2 separate regions of the Homo sapiens genome follow, and region 1 is linked to region 2. Evidence: promoter capture Hi-C in 16 types of primary human blood cells and fetal thymus (Javierre and others, 2016). All regions are on one chromosome and are shown on one strand. The core of a region is centred on a gene start or on the middle of the fragment in contact, and the rest is flanking DNA. Distances in the headings are between cores, read along the strand shown. Region 1 has its middle 9.7 kb from the start of RBMXL1. Region 2 holds the start of LRRC8C (leucine rich repeat containing 8 VRAC subunit C).

Region 1 (3,122 bases), core at 332-2,831, 630 kb before region 2:
TTCTTTAGACTTTTAGTGTGGTGAATTACACTAGTTGATTTTTGAACTGCTTTACATCCACAGGATGAATCCCACTTGATTGGTGTGCATTATTTTTCTATATTGCTGGATTTGATTTGTTAATAGTTTGTAGAGGATTTTTGCATCTATGTTTATGAGGGATAATGGTCTGTAGTTTACTTTTGTACTGTATTTGTTTAATTTTGTTATCAGGATGATGCTGTGCTCATAGAATGAATTGGGAAATGTTCCCTTTTATATTTTCTGAAAGAAATTATTAAGAATTGGAATTATTTAAAAAATGCTTAGTAAGGTTTGCCAGTCAAGAGGAACTATCTGGATGTGGAGATTTGTTTTTCAGATTCTTAACTTTTTTACTCCATTTCAGTTTCTTTAGAAATTATATGACAGTTCAGGTTATCTATTTTAACTTGGGTGAGTTTTAGTTGCTTGTTTGTGCTTTTTTCAGAAATTAGTCCATTTGAGTTGCAGAAGTTATACACATAGAGTTGTCAGAATGTTGAAATGTTGATTTTTAGTTTTACTATTTAATGCATCAAAGATTAAAAGTATTTCTTAAATCTTGATGTTTTTTAAAATTTTTTTGGTAGAAACACTTTATTTGGCTTTGTTGATTCTTGAGCCTGGTCATTTGTAAGACTGATTGGACAGGTTTCACTGAGGGATTTCTGCCTTTTTTTTTCTTTTTTTTTGTCAGGATCTCAGTGTTTGATGTGCTCCTTCCCTGTGGATCAGAGGAGCTTGTATTTCCTTTCACTAAACTCAGAGAAGGAAAACTAGCAACTTATTACTTAAACAAGAGAAGAAATACTTCTGTAAACTGAAAATATTTTTGGCACAGAGACACATACCATACAGGCCAGCAATTTTAGGCCTTAAGCTATGGTAGCTTCAGCAAACAGGAAATGAATAAGGGAAACCTGAAGCACCTTGTCATACAGATAGTGAGAAGGCTACAGGGTCATTCCAAAAGGATTCCAGAGCCAACTTATTCAGGCTCCCAATGGCCAGTACTCCTGGTTGTAGATCCAGGAACAATGCAAGAAAATCATAGCATTGCATTGCCATTTTCTTGTCATTGTTGCACTCAATGACACTCTCAGACCTACTATGTCAGAAAGTCAGAGGAAGGGTAGGGGCCAGGGAATCTTTATACTTAATAAGGTGATTTTAATGCATATCAGGATTGAGGAGCACTGGTGAAAGCAACATGCCTCCTTGGACAGTGAGCTTTATTTGATTCCTGGAGATATTAAAGAAAAGCACTAAATCAGAAGTCAGATGATATGGATTTGGGTCAGGACATTGATGCTACCAAACTAAGGAGGAAGTAACTTAATTTTGCTGAGTTTATAGTAGCCTTGAATGATCTTTTGTATTTCAGTGGTGTCAGGTTTAATACCTCCTGTTTTGTTTGTTAGTGAAGTTATTTGGATTTTCTCTCTTCTTTTCTTAGTTAATCTTGCTAATGGTCTATCAATGTTATTTTTCTTTTCAAAGAACCAGCTTTTTGTTTCATTTATCTTTTGTAGTTTTTTTCAATTTCATTTATTTCTCTGATCTTGGTTATTTCCTTTCTTCTGGTGGGTTTGGGTTTGGGTTTGGTTTGTTCTTGTTTCTCTAGTTCTTTGAGGTGTGAACTTAGATTGTCTGTTTGTGCACTTTCAGACTTTTTGATGTAGGTGTTTAGGGCTATGAACTTTCTTCTTAGCACTGCCTTTGCTGTATCCCAGAGGTTTTGATAGGTTGTGTCATTATTGTCATTCAGTTTGAAGAATTTTTTAATTTCCATCTTGATTTTGTTTTTGACCCAATGCTCATTCAGGAGCAGGTTATTTAATTTCCATGTATTTGCATGGTTTTGAAGATTCCCTTTGGAGTTGATTTCCAGTTTTATTCCACTGTGGTCCGATAGTGTGTTTGATATAATTTTAATTTTCTTAAATTTATTGAGGCTCATTTTATGGCCTATCATGTGGTCCATTTTGGAGAAAGTTCCATGCACGGTTGAATAGAATGTGTATTGTGAGGTTGTTGGAAGAAATTTTCTGTATGTATCTGTTAAGTCCATTTGTTCCAAAGTATAGTTAATCCATTGTTTATTTGTTGATTTTCTGTCTTAATGACCTGTCTAGTGTTGTCAGTGGAGTATTGAAGTCCTCCAGCATTATTGTATTGCAGTCTATCTCATTTCTTAGGTCTATTAGTAATTATTTTATAAATTTGGGAGCTCCAGTGTTAGGTGCATATATGTTTAGGATTGTGATATTTTCCTGTTGGACAAGCCTTTTATCATTATATAATGTCCCTCTTTGTCTCTTTTAACCACTGTTGCTTTAAAGTTTGTTTTGTCTGATATAAGAATAGTTACCTCTGGTCGCTTTTGGTGTCCATTTGCATGAAATGGCTTTTTCCACCCATTTACTTTAACTTTATGTGAGTCCTTATGTGTTCGGTGAGTCTCCTGAAGACAGTGGATAGTTGATTGGTGAGTTCTTATCTGTTCTGCAGTTCTGTATCTTTTAAGTGGAGCATTTAGGTGATTTACATTCAATGTTAGTATTGAAATGTGAGGTAATCCTTGCGTTCATCGTACTCTTTGTTGCCTGTGTACTTTGTTATTTTTTTGTTTTTGTTTTTTGCTTTTGCTTTTTACCTTGTATTTTTGTTTTGTAGGTCCTGTATGATTTATGCTTTAAAGAGGTTCTGTTTTGGTGTGTTTCCAGGCTTCGTTTCAAGATTTAGACCTCCTTTTAGCAGTTCTTATAGTGGTGGCTTGGTAATGGTGAATTCTCTCAGCAATTTTGTCTGAAAATGACTGTTTCTTTCCTTTACGTTTGATGCTTAGTTTTGCTGGAAACAGAATTCTTGGCTGATAATTGTTTTGTTTGAAGAGGCTAAAGATAGGGCCGCATTGCCTTCTGGCTTGTACGGTTTCTGCTGAGAAATCTGCTAGGTTAGTCTGATATGTTTTCCTTTATAGGTTACCTGGTGCTTCTGTCTCACAGCTCTTAAGATTTTTTTCCTTCATCTTAACTTTGGATAACCTGATGACAATGTGCCTAGGTGAAGATCTTTTTGTGATGAATTTCCCAGGTATT
Region 2 (3,214 bases), core at 541-3,040:
TGAGTACAAAGTCTAAGGTTCAATGATTCCTTGACACTGGGTAGCAAGGGAGCATTTCAGGGATGCCTAAGCTTGTGGTCAGGTGCCAACGGTACAAAGATAGAAGTATATCAGAGAGCCCTTGCAGAATAAGGCCCTCCACAGGAGGGTTGTGACCTTGGTACTTGCCTCACTGTGTTTAAATTCAGGTAAGGTAAGAGAATTGAAGAGGTAAAGCTACCTTAGAGAGTATTGCTGCATCTACCCTGGTGACTTACAAGGTACTTGAATTTTTTTTTTTCTAGCAAACTGCTAAAGTTAGCCTTTGCCTTTTTCCCAGAGACTCTCTAGGAATTTTTCCCATCTGCTGACTAGGAGGTAAGCCCGGACCTAAATTTTTGTCTTGTTGTAGGTTAATTAAGACTGGTGTTAGATTCAGCTCCTAAGGCCTAAGAGAATTTAAGGTTGTCTTCTGGGAAGGACACCCAACAGCAGCATTGGAATTGGAAAAAAAGTGTAGGATTTTGCTGAGTGAGCAGGGGGAAAGCAATGTAAAGCCCAAGAGAATATCTTTTGAACAAACGTCCTTTTCATTTTGGTTTAGAAATAGAAACGTGGTAAAAGGAGGCGACTGTTTTCTGAAGGCTTGTAGCACGAAAACAGGCCAACTGGCCAGCAACTAGTTGTCTATCAGTTTCTCTACTCACATACATCTGCCTTTTCCAGACTGCCAGCGCGGAGCACTAGTTTGACTTTGGGTGCTCTTCAAATAGCTGGCATTGATAAGGCATTCCCAGAAGACTGTGTTACTTAGTAATCTTGTCGGTACATTTTTTCACTGGGCAGAGATTTTCCAAACAGAGAGCTGCCAGCTTTCAAGACGTCAGAGTGCTTTTTCATCCTGAAATTGGGTGGGAAAATGGGGAGAAGAAAAGCACGGTTCAGATCAATCAATGAGAGAGAACCCCTCCCTCCATACTCGTTAAACAACAGGTGGTTTTGCTGTGCACCGTCAACTCCTTTATGCGGGAGCTGTAGGCGGGGCATTCCAACTGAGTCTCCCTGGAATCTGCCCCTTAGCCCGTATTGCAGGGGCGGTGCAGTTGGGGATTCCGGCCTGAAAGGAGACTTGGTTGTCAAGGGGCTCAAGGGCTTCATGATCCAAGGATATTGGGTTTTGCTTTTCTCCTTCTCCATCTTCCTCATTCTATCCCACCGTCCCCTCCCCACCCTTCTCTTAGGAGGCCTTCGCTTCTCCTGTGGAGGGGTTATCTTCATCCTGACCCTGGCCTTCGGAGGAGTTCCCAGAAGGGCTATTTTTAGTGGTGGCTGCTCCCCTCTAACTTACCCAGGGGAGGAGCTGCGGTGGCTGAGCCGACGCTGCGCGCACAGCCGCCTGTGGTTTTCCGCGCATTGTGAGGGATGAGGGGTGGAGGTGGTATTAGACGCAGCCGAATCCTCCCTCAGAGTCCGCCAGGTGGGCGTCTCAGGGGTGGGAGTGGCCGCGTCGTGAAGCGGAGAGAGGATTTCTCTCCTGGTCCTGGAGAAGGCCCCCGGCGGCCGGCGGCATCCCTCGCTGGCGAGTCCCGGGAGCGAGGTGGTCTCTGCAGGGGAGGAAGTTCCCGGGCGGCGCGGCCTGCGTCACAGCGGGGCTGGCACCGCGGAGTCGACTCGGCGGGCGGTGGCGACCCCGGGGCCGGGCGCTGGGCGGCGCTGGCTGCCGCTAGCCGGGCTGCGTGCGGGGCGGCGCTGGAGGCGGCTCCGTCCGCGGCCGGGGAGGCGGAGGGGAGGAGGGCTTGCGGGGCTGGGGCGTTAGCTGCGTCCCGGCTGGAAGCCCGCGAAGAGAAGTAGGAGGAAGGCGCCGCCGTGGCCGCGGCCGCAGTGCTCGGGCGCGACAAGCCATGAGCAGCGACCCCGCGGGCGACGCCGCCGTCCCTGGCAGCCGCTGAGCCCGACCCCCAGGCAGCTCGCCGCTCCCTAGCACCTTCTCCAGTCGACACTCTCGCGCCCGGAGGTAAGGGCGGGGGATCCGCGGAGGGATGGAGAGGGGCAGCCCGCAGAGGGCCACCCGCTCGGTCCGCTGTGCGCGCCGGACCGGGACTCGCCCCGCCTCACTCGCGTCCTTGCTTCCCCCCGGCTCTCAGACAGGCAGAATGTGGTTGCCCGCCCGGCGTGTGGTGCTGGGAACCTTCCGCTACTGCGGCTCAGGAGCCCGCCAACCCCTACCCCACCCAATCCGCGCTAGCCCGAGCGGCCGCGCGAGGATCTCAGCCTGGCGCCCAACGCCGCGCCGCAGCGGCAGGTCCTGCAGACTGGGCGCGGGGGTGGGGGGGCGGTCCGCGAGGGGAAATGCGTCCGTGGCCGGGGCGATCGTTGTTCTTTCCTACCTCGAAAATCTCTGAGACCCCGGGGCCAGTCCTTTCCGGTCTATCACCCCCCTGCCACCTCCGAACCCTTGAAGTTAGCACTTTTGGGCAGGGAAAGGAATTGGAAGGTTTCTCGAAGAAACGTGAGAGCACCGTGTGCTCACCTGCAGGACAGGAGGGAAGGGGTTCAGCTTGATCGGGCGGGCCCCAGAAGCCAGGTGTTTAGGCCAGCGGTTGAGGCCAAAACCGCTGCCTTCATCCCACGCCTAGGCTCGCTGATCTTTCCCTTTCCAGCTGGTTCCCACCAATGAGATGATTAGGGATGGAGTTAGCAACTCAGGAGCCTTAGATGTGTTCTGTGGACACGAATGCCTTTCTTTTCTCCCTCAGCCGGTTCTTCCCTCCCCAACCCCCACGCCTGCCCGGTATACAGCAAAGTCCAAACAGTTTCTTCCAAACCTCGCATCCTCCGTAGTTTTGCAACAGCCGGACACCTAGCCCGCATCCTAATGCGGATATTTCAGAGTATTACGGCTAAACTTCCCTTGGTTTCAAATTCCTTAAACATGTTAAAGCCTCAGCAAACGTTAGGAAACATTTTCAGGTTCCCATCCTCAAAGTAAAAAATAAGAACCAATCCATCTTTGTTGGAGTGCCGGTGTTTGGCACGGGGAGGCTTGAATTACCTCCATTTAAAGCAGCCTTTGAAGGAAGGAATAGGTAAAGGAAATCGCAGCCGTTTGTAAGTCACATACTTCTTTCGCGGTAGTGTGAGAAACGTAGCCTTAACCAACAGTCACATTTCCCGACAGGTATGTGATGGTTTCCCAAAGCATCGATGAGGCTTCAGCGTGGGCAGGTCATTAAGA

The links. Contacts are between HindIII fragments. The CHiCAGO score rates a contact against its expected background, and 5 or more counts as called.
Region 1: a contact is called between a fragment that was not itself captured here and the fragment with the promoter of LRRC8C in region 2, in 1 of 17 cell types (naive CD8 T cells). The highest score is 6.4, in naive CD8 T cells.

Annotation. Positions count from the first base shown.
Region 1 is chr1:89,000,777-89,003,898 of GRCh38, forward strand. No RefSeq gene overlaps it. Among named protein-coding and RNA genes, the nearest start is that of RBMXL1, 9.7 kb to the left of the region's middle. The HindIII fragment of the contact is 3,251 bases long and covers 1-3,122 here.
Region 2 is chr1:89,631,330-89,634,543 of GRCh38, forward strand. LRRC8C (leucine rich repeat containing 8 VRAC subunit C) reads left to right here and starts at 1,791. Exons shown (of 3, transcript NM_032270.5): 1 at 1,791-1,993. It overlaps LRRC8C-DT (LRRC8C divergent transcript), which reads right to left and starts at 1,565. Exons shown (of 3, transcript NR_033981.1): 1 at 1,328-1,565; 2 at 687-880. RefSeq lists a silencer at 1,593-2,252 and enhancers at 2,633-2,682, 2,713-2,762. The HindIII fragment of the contact is 6,667 bases long and covers 70-3,214 here.